2 separate regions of the Homo sapiens genome follow, and region 2 is linked to region 1. Evidence: promoter capture Hi-C in human tissues and cell types (Jung and others, 2019). All regions are on one chromosome and are shown on one strand. The core of a region is centred on a gene start or on the middle of the fragment in contact, and the rest is flanking DNA. Distances in the headings are between cores, read along the strand shown. Region 1 holds the start of AIFM2 (AIF family member 2). Region 2 overlaps TBATA (thymus, brain and testes associated).

The links. Contacts are between HindIII fragments. The study calls those that stand out against the background at their distance.
Region 2: a fragment that was not itself captured here is called in contact with the fragment with the promoter of AIFM2 in region 1 in 1 of the 25 tissues and cell types used here (small bowel).

The regions. Positions count from the first base shown.
Region 1 is chr10:70,126,576-70,134,074 of GRCh38, forward strand. AIFM2 (AIF family member 2) reads right to left here and starts at 6,250. Exons shown (of 9, transcript NM_032797.6): 1 at 6,159-6,250. RefSeq lists an enhancer at 6,041-6,541 and silencers at 6,063-6,272, 6,105-6,424. The HindIII fragment of the contact is 11,395 bases long and covers 1,172-7,499 here.
Region 2 is chr10:70,773,172-70,780,165 of GRCh38, forward strand. It overlaps TBATA (thymus, brain and testes associated), which reads right to left. Exons shown (of 11, transcript NM_001318241.2): 5 at 6,422-6,571; 6 at 5,386-5,465; 7 at 3,982-4,167; 8 at 2,018-2,099; 9 at 1,042-1,186. Among named protein-coding and RNA genes, the nearest start is that of TBATA, 8.7 kb to the right of the region's middle. RefSeq lists an enhancer at 3,080-3,907 and a silencer at 3,176-3,357. The HindIII fragment of the contact is 6,791 bases long and covers 1-4,840 here.

The sequences.
Region 1 (7,499 bases), core at 5,000-7,499:
GGACTATAAGGCCCAACCAGCTATAATATCCTGAGCTGTCCTCGTACACACTGGTTTCCAAGACATGGTGGTGGTTCCCCAAGACGGTCCCCAAATCATCCCACACTTATGGGGCAGCTTTTGGTTAGAACTCCGGGCACTGTTCCCATTGGTGTTCAAATGCCCACTGCCTAACTTCTCCCCTGGGGGCGGACAGTAGAGCGGACGGAGGGCACTGACACAATGGATTGGAGGGAATTTAAAGTTGTTTCTCGTGGGTCAAATGGTCCCCAAAGCATTGAGGCTTGAACATACCCATTTCACAGATGAGGAGGCTGAGCCCTCGTAGAGATTAGGACCCAAGACAACCCCCCGGCAGGCAGGGCCACCCTGGCTCCTCTAAGCCCTCAGAAGGGTTGTCTAGAGCTAATCCCAAGCGTACCTCAGGCTGAATCTGCCAACTGGGCCAGAAGGGAATGTCTCCTAGGGACCAGGACCCAGGAGGGCCCACAGGCCCAGCCAGAGGTAGCAGTGCACACCAGGAGCTGCGCAGGGCCTGAGAATGTAGGCAGTGATGAGGCAGGCCGTGGGTGGCGTGTGTTTCACCAGCCCCTGGCAGCGTGCAACCCTCTGTGCTGGGTCTTACCCTTGGGGCTGTCAGCCAGGGATGAGGTCAAGAAAACACCCAGAAAGCCCCACTTCCAAGTTAGCTGGGCATGGCCCCTGAGAGGGGCTACGCAGCTGGCCGGGGATAGGGACAGGGGAGTCCACTGTGCGTCAGGTCACACTGGAGCACCCAGGGACACTCAAAAAGGACAGCCTAGAGCCCTGAAAAAGAGCTGAGATCAGGGGGCCTTCCTAGCAGAGGAAACAACTTGGGCCAGAGGCCCAGTGGCAGGAAGGGAGGAGGCAGGTAGAGTTCAGGGCACCTGTGGCAGAAGGTGGAGAGGCTTAGAGGACAGGTGACAGGGGCCGACAGACAGACAGCCTGCCATGCCAGGGCAGCTTTGACAATCAGGTGGACATACAAGCCTGCTCCGGGCCCTTCATGGGGTTTCCTCCAGGGAAAGAAAGTCTAGTGACCCCAGAGTGGACCTCAGGGGCAATGAGTTGACCAAAGGAGCCAAGCCCTTGACCCCCAGGCCCCTAGTATCATCAACCTGCTTCCCCGAAAGGGCAAACTCTTGCCTCACCCAAGGAAGGCAAATTGCTTATCTGGGGTTCCCTGTGAAGGGCCTGGGGCCTGAGGGGACACCCAGACCAGAGCAGGGCCAGGGAGGGGAGGCACTTTTCCTCTTCAGGCTGCCTGAGGCCTCTCCTGCAATCTGCTCTCTCTCTCTTCTCTCTCCTCTACTGACCCCTGCCACGCTTACTTGTGGAATAGGGAGGCCAGTGACTCTCCAGCAGATTTCACCCTGCCTCTTTGGCAGCCCCTTGCCCAATACTCTTGGACATGCCGACTCTCTTTGGCTCTGCCAGTGTCGGTTCTTGCCTGGCCCCAGAAAACAGTGAACTCCCCTCTGCTTGGCCATGATCTACTTGGCCAGACACCTAAAGCAAGGGCTTAAGCCATGGAGCTGCATTTCCAGCCACACACCCTGTAGGAGATGAAAATGCACGTATGGAATTAGTGGATGCCCAGTTGTATGTTCTAACATAGCAGTAGTGCTGTGCAAACCTCCACCTGTGTGACACTCCATCAATCAATGGAAACTGCCACCAATGAGAGGCTACAGGATAAAATATTATAAACCCATACAATGCAGTACTGTGTAGCCAGTTGTTTTTAAAGGGTGAGTGATGTTTTGTTTTGTTTTTGAGATGGAGTCTCACTCTATTGCACAGGCTGGAGTACAGTGGCTCAATTTCAGCTCACTGACTGCAACATCTGCCTCCTGAGTTCAAGCAATTCTCCTGCCTCAGCCTCCCAGGTAGCTGGAACTACAGGCATGTGCCATCATGCCCGGCTAATTGTTTTTTGTATTTTTAGTAGAGTCAGGGTTTCGCCGTGTCGGCCAGGCTGGTCTCGAACTCCTGACCTCAAGTGATCGGCCTGCCTCGACCTCCCAAAGTGCTGGGATTATAGGTGCGAGCCACTGTGCCCAGCCTGTGAATGACGTTTTTATACAAAAAGTCTGTCCATGAAAAAGTCAGGCAAGGGCTGGGTGTGGTGGCTCCTGCCTATAATCCTAGCACTTCAGGAGGCAAAGGCAGGAGGACTGCTTGAGCCCAGGAGTTTGAGGCTGCAGTGAGTAACTTTACCTTTGCTCCCTCCCACAACACACACACACAAAGACACACATACACAATCTGATTTACACAAAACATGTTTTCAAGGTTCATCCAAGTTGTAGCATGGATCAGTGCTTCATACCACTGCACTTCGGCCTGGGCAACAATGTGAGACCCTGTCTCAAAAGTAAAAAAAAGAAAAGAAAAAGTCAGGCAATATTTATTTATTTATTTACTTATTTTTAATTTTCTTAGGGACAGGGTCTTGCTCTATCACCCAGGCCAGAATGCAGTGGCATGATCATAACTCATTATAACCTTGAACTCCTGAGCTGGCTAATTTTTTTTTTTTTTTTTGTAGAGATGAGGGTCTCACTATGTTGCCTAGGCTGATCTTGAACTCCTAGCCCCTCAAGGGATCCTCCTGCCTTAGCCTCCCGAAGCACTGGAATTACAGGGGTAAGCCACTGTGATTTCGAGCTGTAGAAAAGATTCAATGAGATCATTTACGTAAAGCATTTTAGCATGGTGCCTGGCACAGAGTAGCAATGAATACACAGCAGCCACGTTTTATATATATATATATAAAATATATGTTGCAGATTAGTTTGCCCAGTCCCAAAAAGTCAGGCCACAGAACCACATGAAAGATCTAATCCCATTTATGGCCAATAAGACACATCCACCTCGGTATGTATACACATATACAGGTAATGATTACAGCAGTTAGCATCTGTTGCACTTTTGCCCATATCTTCGATTTAAGGTATGAGTTTTTTCTCCTTATTTTGGAAAAAAGTTCAACAACTTGCCCAAGTTCAATTCTCAACACATCAAACCTGCTGTCTGAACCAAAGTGCTAATAGTGGTCATAGATAATGTTTTCATTTTCTTCCTTAAGCTTTTGTATTGTTTGAATTTTTTTCAAACAAGCATATGTCATTTTTGCAGAAATAATGTCTTTAATAATAGGACAGACCGCTTACCATCTAATTTTTTAATCAAAATAGAATTCACATATACAATTTACCACTTAAGATGTAAGTTCACAGTGAGCTATGATTGCACCACTGCACTCCAGCCTAGATGAGACCCCATCTTTTAAAAAAAAAAAATGAGATGTAGGCTGACTCACACCTCTAATCCCAACACTTTGGGAGGCCAATGCAGGCAGATTGCTTGAGCTCCGGAGTTCCAGACCAGCCTGGGCAATATGGTGAAACCCCATCTCTACAAAAAATACAAAAATTAGCCAGGCATGGTGGCACATGCCTGTGGTCCCTGATATCAGGAGGCTGAGGTGGGAGGATCGCTTGAGCCTAGGAGGTCGAGGTTGCAGTGAGGCATGATCATGCCACTGCACTCTAGCCTGGGCGCCAGAGCAAGACTCTGTCTCAAAAAAAAATTTTTTTTAATTTAAATTTCAAAAAAAGATGTAAGTTCAGTGGGTTTTAGTGTATTCACCAGGTTGTGCAACCATCACAACTATCTAATTCCAGAACACTTCCATCACCCCCAAAATAAATCCTGTACCCCACCTACCCTAGCCCTGGGTAGCTACTAATGTTCTTTCTGTCTCTATAGATTTGTCTGTTCTAGACAATTCATGTAGATGGAATTATACACTATGTGGCTTTTTGTTTGCGACGTCTTCCACTGATCATCATGTTTTCAAGGTTCATCCGAGTTGTAGCATGTTATCAGTGCTTCATTCCTTTTCCTGGCTGAAAAACAGTCCATTACTGGTGTATGAATAGACCACATTTTGTTTATCCACTCATCAGCTGACGGGCACTTGGGTTGTTTCCACCTTTTGACTATGTGAATAACGCCACTATGAACATTTGTGTACAGGTTTTTGTGTGAACCAGTCTTCAGTCCTCTTTAGTATATATTTAGGTATGGAATTGCTGGGTCATATGGTAACTTGAAGTTTAACTTTTTGAGGAACTGCTAAATCCACCATCTGATTTTGAACTGAACACCAAAGCCCCAGTGGGAATCACAGAGAATCTTAACTATGTCTGTCTAGGTTCAAGAATGTTAGCTTAAAAGAAGGCCTAAGAGAGCGGAACAAACCCTGATTGTCCAGGAACCCCTCAGTAACTTTACCTTTGCTCCCTGCCACAACACACATACACACAGACACACACACACACAATCTGATTTACACAAAAATTTGCTCAGTCAATCCTGTTTTCTCTGCCAAGAGCATCCACCCTGATCTCAAGGGTATTATTCCACAATAAGCAGCCCATAGGACTACTGAAAAACCAGGAAGTTACATTTATGCCAAAGCTGTTCAGAGGTTGTGCCTCAGAAGACACACAGCAGGAACCGTGTGGGCTCTGATCAAAGCAAGAATGTCATCCCAGAGTTGCTCCAGTATTGCTTCACAAATATTACAAATAAAACACGATGCTTTTTGAGTCGTCATGGCTCACACAAAGGGTAGGTTTCAACATCAGCCTCTGGAGAGCCACATTCCCAGAGTGGCCGTCCCGGATAAGAAGGCCACTACAGCACGACTCACAGCACCATGGAGGTTTCCTCCACCTGCGGGACACAGCAGGATGGAGACGGTTGGGCGGCCTCCCTTCCTGGGACACTCCATGGCCAGCCCCTCAGGGACTACTTGAAGAACAGAACCCCCAAAAGACCAGTTTCTGAAAAGGGACTCAAAGTCTAAGGGAGGCAGCCTCCTTTTATCCCCAGGGGAGGGCAGCTCTGGGGCAGACAGGTTCATCTGGATGTCATATTCACTCCCGCACAGAAAACCTAGGCCAAGCAATTTGTCCATCCTCCTCAGAGCCAGTTTTGTGGTCCCCATGGTCTGCCCACCACCTGTACCTGGACGCTGGCTTCATTTGGCCACCAGACAAAAGTCAGGCTGGCCCTGGAGTCCACCGGCCTGCCCAGCCCATCACTTCTGGGCTAGGTAGTGCTAAGCCTGCCCAGCCCACCCTGGCTGGGGCTCAGTGCCCTCTTCTTGGTGACACACTGTGCTCCTTGGAGAACTCCTCTCTAGGTGCTGGGGTGAGGGCAGGTGTGATCTGAGATCCCGGGGCTCTCTGGCAGGTGCATGCACGCACACTGGAACCTGATACAGGCTTTTGAACACAGGTGCACAGTCCAGAAACCTGCAAGTCCCATCCCAAACTATATCTGACTCTCTGCCCTATGCCTGTCCTCCTACAGGATCATCAGCCCCCAAGAGACCTCACCACTCCCCATCCTCACCTTAAATTCCAGGGTCAAAAAGACTCTCCTTGTAGGGAAAGGTAGGGTGTGTTGATCAGGTGGTGTTGGAAGGAGAGCCCCAATATAGGCCACTAATTCAGTTCCAGGTGGACTGCACGCGTCCCATCAGAGTTAGTTTACTCACCGCTGGTCTTTGTCCCTGCAGCACCCAGGGCTTCGGGAAGGGAGAAGCAGACTTCCTAGTGCTGCACCCCCCAGCTCCCCCGAGCCTATGGGCACTGGGTTGACTCCAGTTTCTTTCCTCTTAGAGACTGAGGTTTCTCCCTTTCCTCTCACACCTGCTTCTGTCCGGACCGGCCGCTTCTACCCAGCGGACCCTCGGACGGTCCTCGCAAGATCCGGGTTACACCCGCCCCGTGTTCCCTCTTCCCCGGTTCGCCCTTCCCGGCCTAAGCCCATCTTCCTTAGGAAAACTTAGCAGGGATTTAGGGGCCAAACCAGGAGGGTGGAGTTTTCTTTGCCCTCGGCCAGGAGCACATCTCCCTGTTGCGTTTTTTGGGGGAGACAGAGAGGGGCGGGCCTGAGTCGAGTATCCCTCTCCTCGCAGCGCCACAACTGCGCGCACCGACCTCCCCACGCCAGACGCGGCGTGAGCCAGGCCTCTAATCCGCTCGCCCCTCTTCCGGGTCCCGGTCCCGCCCGGGGCGCCCGGGGTCTCGAGAGCCCGCCTGGCGGCGCGATCTCACCTGTCGGCCGCGCCCGCGCGCTCTCGCTCCGGCTCCCGCTCCCGCTCCCGCTCCCGCTTGGTCGTCTTCCCGAGTTACTGACCCGAGGCGCTCCCGGGCGGGGCGTGACTCAGCACTCGTGCTGGTCCCCGACCCCGCGGCAACGCCCCGGCCAGGCCCCGGAAACGGTCCTGGCACGCTGGGGCTGGTCTCCGAACGGCCCGCCGGACTAACCTTGACCCTGAGCGAACGGCCTTGAACTTTGAAACAAATGCTCCCATGGCCAGATGTCGCCTCTCCGGCTCCTGCCAGCACCCGCGCCCCAGTCCTGCCGAGCCATTCAGACTTGGTTTAAAGTGTCCTTTCAGCATACTTTAAAGCAAAAAAGAGAGAGAGAGAGAGAGAGAGAGAGAGAGAGAGAGAGAGAGAGAGAGAGAGAGAGAGAAGGAAGGAAGGAAAACAAGCATCCCCCTGTTCCTCTGATTTTCTCGAGGACACCTTTAAAGCCACTGGAACCTTGGAGAGTGGGGTTCCCCTCACACGTTGGGCGCACTGCCAACATCCTTCCTTCAGACATACACATAATAATTCCGCAAACCCTGTTGAGCTCCTACATTTGCCAGGCACTGTGCTAGGCGTTGGAGGGATAACTTGGAGAGAAAACTGACAAGGTTCCTGCTTTCACGGAGGCGACAGTCTGGGAAAAGACAGATATTAAACACACCACCAAAAAATACATGTATAGAGAAAACAAAAACCATGTATCACCAACTGCAGTAAGAAAGATTGGGCATGGCCAGGCACGGTGGCTCATGCCTACAGTCCCAGCACTTAGGGAGGCCAAGGCGGGAGGATCGTTTGAGCCCAGGAGTTGGAGACCAGCCTGGGCAACATAGCGAGACCTACAAAAATTAGCCGGGCTTGTTGGTGCACACCTGTAGTCCCAGCTTCTCGGGAAGCTGAGGTGGGAGGATTGCTTGAGCCCAGGAGTTTGAGGCTACAGTGAACCATGATCATTCCACTGCACTCCAGCCTAGGTGACTGTGAGATTCTGTCTCAAAAAAAAAATAATAATAATAATAATAATAAATGAAATGAAATGAAAAAATAAAAAAGAAAGACTGAGGGCAAAGGAAGGGTGCAAATACTTCTCTCCAAGGATGAGAAAGAGGTAGATTTAGGTAAAGAGGAAGGAAGTGTGGTCTGGATGTGCAAAGACCCACAGGCAGGACAATGACCTGGAAGGCAGTGTATTGCCAGCTCAAATCAGACCAAGCTAACTCAGCGAAAGATAAGCCATCTCCATCTACTTACTGCAAATATTAGCACCTACTTTAAGAGTTGTGGATAAGGGCCAGGCAC
Region 2 (6,994 bases), core at 195-2,694, 640 kb after region 1:
TCAGAGTGGAAGGGAACACCAAGTCCAAGGCCTTGCAAGAACCCATGACTTCAAGAAACCTCAGTCCACCCCTACCCCTGCTTCTTCTCACCAAGCCCACCCATGCTCCAGACACCTCAAACTTGTCATTCCCCAGTTGTATACCTTCCTGACTTCCATGCCTTCACCCAGGCTGGTCCCACTTCCCGGGATGACCTTTTCCCAAGCTTTCATTTGCTCAGTCAAATCCTACCACTCCTATCAGTGTTTCCCAAACTCTGTTGGAAACACTCAGGTGACTGTTAAAAATACAGGCCCCCCCGGCTTCACCCCGGCCTGCTATGTTAGAATCTTTAGGGGTCTGCATTTTTAACAAGCTCCCGGGGAGAATCTGAGTGCTGCTGGCTTTGGGAGTCAGTCGGGTCCAAGACTGAATCCCAGCCCTTCTGCCGACCAGTCAGGTTACTTTGGGTAGGCCATTCTATTGTTCCTGAGCCTCAGTTTTCCCATCTGTAAAATGGAGCTAATACTGCCTCAGTGGGTTGTTGGATGGACTAGAAAAACGTGGAACACCCAGCGGTGTCAGGCAAACTTATCGCTGCTCAGTGGCCTTGCTGACTCTCAGGCTCCACTCACCTGCCTTGTGAGGCCTCCCCCAGTTCGTAATTAATCTTTCTCTTCCAGCCATCAGGGCACTTAGTACTGGTATAAAACCACTGCCTTGTGTTAGCATTTTCTCTCTACTCATGTCTTCCCATAGACCAAAGAGCTTCTGAAGAGTTAGGTGTGGCTAATCCAGCCTTATCTGGTTAAAATTGACTCCGGTGGCCCCCTTGGGGTGTCCCCAGCCCTGGCAGTTTGGGGGCTGGTCTGGCTGTGTTGGCCTTGAAGTGGCTTGGGTAGCACTAGAAGGTCCCTGGGGGAGGGGCTGGGCCTCTGCCTCCAGGACAGACTTAGTCAGCCCAGACCCTGGTCAGCGCCAGGCTCCCTTCTCCAGGTCCCACTGGCCTCACCTGGGAGGACAGAAGGCTGCAGAAGGGCAGGGCGGGGTGCGGGGCCCACCTGCAGGGTGGCTCTTGCTTCTCTTGAGGAGGTTCATGCACTTCTGGAAGCTGGCTTAGGAGCTTTTCTGTAGGGATGGAGACTAGGGGCTGGGGAAGGAGCTGAGCCACTGCTGTCTGCAGGAGTCCCAGAGCGAGGTCTTTTTCTGAAAGCACAGCCCGGGGGCAGTGTCCTCAGCCCCCAGCCCCCTTCCTGTCCCTGTGGCGGGGCCAGAAGCAGGGCCTCCATCCAGGGCAGCTTTCTCTAAGCATCCCACCTTCTGCCCTCAGGTCCCCTCGGGAGAGCTCCCCCTTCTCTCCTGGCCCATGTGTGCAGAGCCCCTAGCCCTTTCACATCCCTGTCCTGCCACATGAGGATGTGTACGCCTTGTTCTTGGCCCCAGCTGGCCCTCCTGCCCACCATATCCCCGGGCCCACGCTGGGAAGTCTACTGGGGACCTGCCTTCCTCCTCCCCCTTCTCCTTCACTCTCCTGTCCAGGAAGTCTTCTCCAATTAGCTTCCTGGTTCTCATCACTCCTCACCCTTCTACTCAGATGCACCCCCTACCCACTGTCCCAGTGCGTCCGCGTGTGTATTCCTGTGTTCATGTGTATACACATGAGTAGCCTTATGTGCATCTACTTGCACCTGTGTGTGTGTGGGGGTCTCCCAATGCAACGTGTGAGGGGCTGTGTCTGCTAAGTTCAGTCTTTGGATTTTTTCCTCCCAGGTGCCTAGGCCTGGGGTCAGCATGAAAGAGGGGTCCCCTCCAAGGAGCAGGGGTAAGGAAATCCTGCTGAGGAATTGGGGAGGAGGAAGCAGAGATGCTGTCCAGCTGGGAAGGGTTAGTTTGGGGCTCCAAAGTGGAGGAGAGGCCTCCATGGAAGGCCCCCTCCAGGGTGGGAGCTGAGGGACATTTGAGTCCTGCAGAACCAGAGATCAAGGGCAGGACCTTGGCAGCCTCCACTGAGACAGTGCTGCGGGGCTGTGTCCTCACCCTTGGGCGGAGCGTAGAGCAGCCAGAACTGGATTGCGCTTAGCAAGTCTGTTTCCAGGATCCGACACAGGAGCTCCAGGACCTGTGGGCAGGAGGCCAGCACATTCCAGCCAGGAGTACAGGCAAGGAGTACAGGCAAATGTAGGTTTGGAGGGCACCAAGGAGACCCTTCCCCCAAAGTGGGCTCCCAGAGGCGCCTGCTGGGCTAAACGTGTTCCCACAAGGGTCTGTGCCTTTTCCTCCACATTGGGCTTTGCACTTAACGGAGGGCTTTGTCTCACAACAGTCCAGGAGGAAGATTCTTAATCTTCCTGCTGGACGGGTGGAGAATCCGAGGCCCTGAGAGGGGATGCTAGCAGGTAGTTGGTGGCAGGACACGACCTCAGCGAAAGGTTCTGTGGACCCCACATCCCTGAAGCCTGCTTGGCTGGTTATTCCCTAGGGCCCCCTCACTGGGAAGCCAAGGTCCGAGCTGGCCAGTCAGCTCCTCAGAGACACACCAAATCCCACATGCCCAGGGCCTTGGTGTGGGGATTTCAGGAACCCCATGGTAAGCCATACCCTAAAAGTCCCAGAGTCTGGGGATGTTGGAAAAGGGATGGGGGAAGCCCAGAGGGCAGCCTGAGGCGGGGCAGCACAGGCCGGTTCTGCAAACTGCTCAGCACCGGCTCCCTCCTGCAGAGCTGTGGGCATGCTTGGCTCCTTGCTGCATCCTCAGTCTTTGACATCTTTGCTACTTCCGGGCTCATTTTCCCCTGCGTTCTCCAGTCAGTTAGCATCAGGAAAAGATCCAGCTGTGTCTGGGATGGGCTATGGGGGCTCCCTAGGCCAGACTGCTGCTGGTGGCTGTAGCTATGGCAGGCTGGAGTTGGGGCCTGAGGTGAAAGGTGGAAGCCCTGGAGTCCTAAGAAAGTGAGGCCCCCTCAGCTCCTGGCGGTCAGTCATCCTAGGACCTGGAGGGGCCCGTCGGTCCCCAGCAGGTCGGCCTCATCCTCAGCAGAGTGGAATCTGGGCTGGGCCTCTCCCCAGGCCTCTGCCTGCTTAGGGGTCCACCCTCGTCCCCAGATGCCCACCCGCTGTGCTGACCCACCCTGACCTGCCCCTGGGCCCTTCTCCATTCTCTGTGTCCAACTTACCTGCCTTGTGCCCCCTCCCCACAGGACCTGAGAACCTAATTCCAGGTGAGGTGAGGCCGCCCTATGGTGGAGAAAGCACCTTAGTCCTGGCTATGCTGCTCCGTCTCAGGGGACCTGGCCCATGGACTATCACTTGGCAGGGCCTCGGCCTCCCCATCCGTGGCATGGAGGTGCTGAACCCTGTCTGCTCTATCCACTTTGCTGCATTGTGGTAAGGTTTCAGAGGGAGTGTGTGCCTGACAGTGCTGGTCACAAGGAAGGTGGCAGAATGCTGGGTCTACCTCTGGCCTTTCTTGGAGGACATCCGTGCATTTTCACAGGGACCTCTGACGCCTTCACCCACCGGGATGAGGCATGGACTCATCTCAGGCCTCAGTGGGGAAACGTGAGCATGGAGGAGGTGGGCTCTGGGCTCACTGAAGCACAAGCCAGGCCCCTCGCTGAGTGTGGACACCAGGCTGGGCCTAGCCATGCAGGCTGTGGGGTGCGGCCTGCTGTGATGGGCAGGACCTCCTTCTTCAACCCACCATTGCAGCTCCCTTCACTAACTCAGCAAATGCTACAGCTGGAAGGGACCCTCGACAACAGTGCGTTCATGCTTCCAGTGGAGAGATCACGGAACTAGGGCCCAGGGAGGGGAAAGGACTCACATGGAAACCTAGAGGCAGCAGGGGGTCATAGCCCCTGCTGCTGACTCCACAGGGCTGGAGTTTTCTGTTCTTAACAGTCCTAGGCACCAGTATCCCTGGGAGGGGCCTTGCCCTAAAGCGGTTTGTAAGACCCCTAATGTGGAGAGCCAGGAGCCTGGGAGCAGAACTGGGCCCTCACCAGCAGCTCCTGATCCTGAAGGAGGAAAGCCTGGACTCCTTCATGTCTGCTGGAAGACTGACTCTGCTGGCCCTGGTGAGATCTGCGGCGGCCGACAGCCCGGGTGGAAGCGGGGATGAGCCTCCCAGTCTCTGCTGAGTACTTTGCCCCCTGCTCCCGCAGAGGCTCCTCCTTCTGCTCCTTCTGCTGGGACAAAAGTGGCCAGAGACTCCAGGCAGTCAGCAAGAGGGGAGGAAGAGGGCTGAGGGGAGGAGAGGAGCAGGAGGCCGGGTCACAATCCCAGGGCACTTCGCCTCCCAAATCCCAGCATCACAGCGTTGCCAGGGTCCCAGGGTATCATCCAGCTCTGCCACCCCCCCAACCTCACCTGCCCTAGACCCCTCCTTGGGCATCCCCGGCCCTCTCTCTGGCAGCTGGCCCTTCCACTATCAGCTATCACGCTTAAACCAGCAAAAGCTCTTCCTCCTGGAACTCAGTAATGCAGGGTCGATCGCTGGATGCCCGCGGGTGGTTCTCGTTCTCCCTCCCAGGTAGGTCCTCCTTGCTGCTCCTCCCCACACCCATCAGAGATTTGAAAACAGCATCCTGCACCAAGGGCCCACCGCCTACCTTAATTCCCAGCTCAGCTGCCCCCAGGTCTGTCCCAGAGAGGCCTGGTGCCTGGGGCCTCCTGCTCTTGCAATTCCAATTAAGACTGGTAGTATCCTTCCCCCCATTTTAAAGATAAGAAAACAGAGACCCAGACAGCTTAGCTGAGTTGTCCTGAGTGCTGCAGTGAGTTAGTTGTGAGCAGGAATGAGAAGCCGGGCCTCTGCCTGTCCACTCTGGTTACCCAAGACAAGGGGCAGGACCAGACTGTCCTAAGAGCAATTCCAGTCACCTTCAAGCTGCCTCTCAGGTGACTTTACTGTTTTATCATCAAATGGCACCCATGGGGTCACCCCTATCATGTTTGAAAACCTTCCGAGATTCTCTGCTCCTTATGCGATTAGACACTAAAAATCTTGGCAATTAAGAACAAGCTGCTCCTCCCCACATGCAAAGTCTGCCCCCCCTCACCTTTCCCATTGCTGCCCACTTATAGCCTGGTTTCTGATGGTGCCCTGCATTTGCCAGCTTTTGAGCTGCTGTGCTAGGTGCCTCTGCTCGGAACTCCTCAGTCCCCTTGTGAACATCTCACTTAGATATCGAAGGCCCCCAAGTGCCTCCTGTCCTAAAACCCCTGCTTGGATTTCTCCACCTAGGTGTGCTCTCTCCCTCACTGTGACCTTTCCCCTGACGTTTGTATGAATCAGTCCCCCCACCCCACCTCTGGTAGGCTGAACTGACTCGGGAGGGATCTCCTTACACAGGGAAGGATCCGTTTCTCCTCTTCCCAGACTAGCTCCTGTGTTCCGCACCCACCTCTTTCTTCTTCAGTTCATCCTCCTTGGTGAGGAAGGCCACCCGGGAAGCTAGCTCCTTCAACTCCTTCTTCCAGGCTTCTGGGAGGAGGGGACAAGGTCCTGCCAACTGAAGTCAGGGGCCCTCCTCCCCTCCCTGTGCCACCAGGCCTTGGTAGAGGAGTCTGCTCTCCTTCCTGGCCTCCCTGCCTGGATCTTAAAGGGAAAGGGGGAGGCGGTGCCCTGGAGGGAGAAGGATCTGGATTCACACCATGGGTGGTGGTTGTGGCAGTGGGTGGGGTGCGGGGGTGGGGCATTGCTTTCCTTCTAGCAGGGGCTGATGTTGATGTCCTAGCCTGTGGCATTTCTAGGGGATGCTGGAGAATATTTGGTTACCTGTGCCAAGATGCACATGGTTTAATCTAGCTTTGCCTCTTTTAGGTCCCTGAGGCCAAGACTGAAGCTGAGGAGATACAGATGGGCCTGTTATTAAGAAATCAAACTACTCCCTGGAGAGGGTGGCAAAGAGAGCAGCAGCCAGCCTTCCAAGTCTCTCTGCCCTGCACTGGCAGCCCCAGCCCCTTCTCCAGGATCTCTTCCCTGTCCCCACCAAACTGGCTTCCAGCACCTCAGTGGTGGAAAGGATAATGCTTGGCAGAGCAGAGACCTCTGAAACGCCAAGCCAGCACTGTGGCTGATTGTTCTGGTTGGCCAATGCCTGAGCACACAAGCTACTAAATATTCCCTATAGCATTCTGGCCTACAGCTGCCAGTCACATGACTGCAGGCTCAACATCTGCTTGCCCTCTGTGTGTTATTACTCCTCAAGCACCTCAAATCCAAGCAGGGGTGCATTTCTGCTGGCTAGGACTTGCTGGGTGGGGAGTAATGCAGAGATTAGGCTGTCCAAGGAAATGGGAGAAAAAGTGGGGTTCCCCCAACGGACCTCACTGACCTAAGAGCGATGGCCCTTTCCTTCTGGGCACCCACCCAAGTGAGGCAGCCTTGGGGAGAGGCATGAGCCCCAGGGTAGAGGGAGGCATGGCCCAAGTACCCACCAGAAGAAAGCTGGGGGTTCCGATTAGACTGTGGGTCTCCAATGGGGACAGAGATGGTGGGTATCCCCATTTGACAGCCGGAAAAGACAGTTGACTCAGGCAAGGGGGCTGGAAAATCCCTGACGACACAGACAGGCTTCCCGGTGAGATCTGCAAAGGGTTAGAGGCTGTGGGAAGGGAGGCTTAGGTGGACCTTAAGAGCTCCAGGAGGCAGGGAAGAGGCTGAGAGGCAGGGTGATTCCGGCTCCACCTCTTCCAGTAACCACCAGCTGATAGATTATCAGAGCTGGGAGGGCATTGTAACCACCTAGACCAGCGACCGCCTCACCCACGGGGGGATCCTAGAATGGACAGGGGAAAGGCCCGCTCAGGGCCACACTGTGATTTGGGCAGAGGTGAGACAAGAACTTAGGCTTCCTGGGCCCCTAGTCCTGGGGATCTTCCGATTTCCTGTGACAGGGCAACAAATTGCCGATGTGAGTACAAACGGGTAGGCAGGCAGCTTAAAGATGAGAATGCTGGGGCGAGGGCATTATGTCACAGTTCATGATGGGAGAGGCCTGGGCTCACATG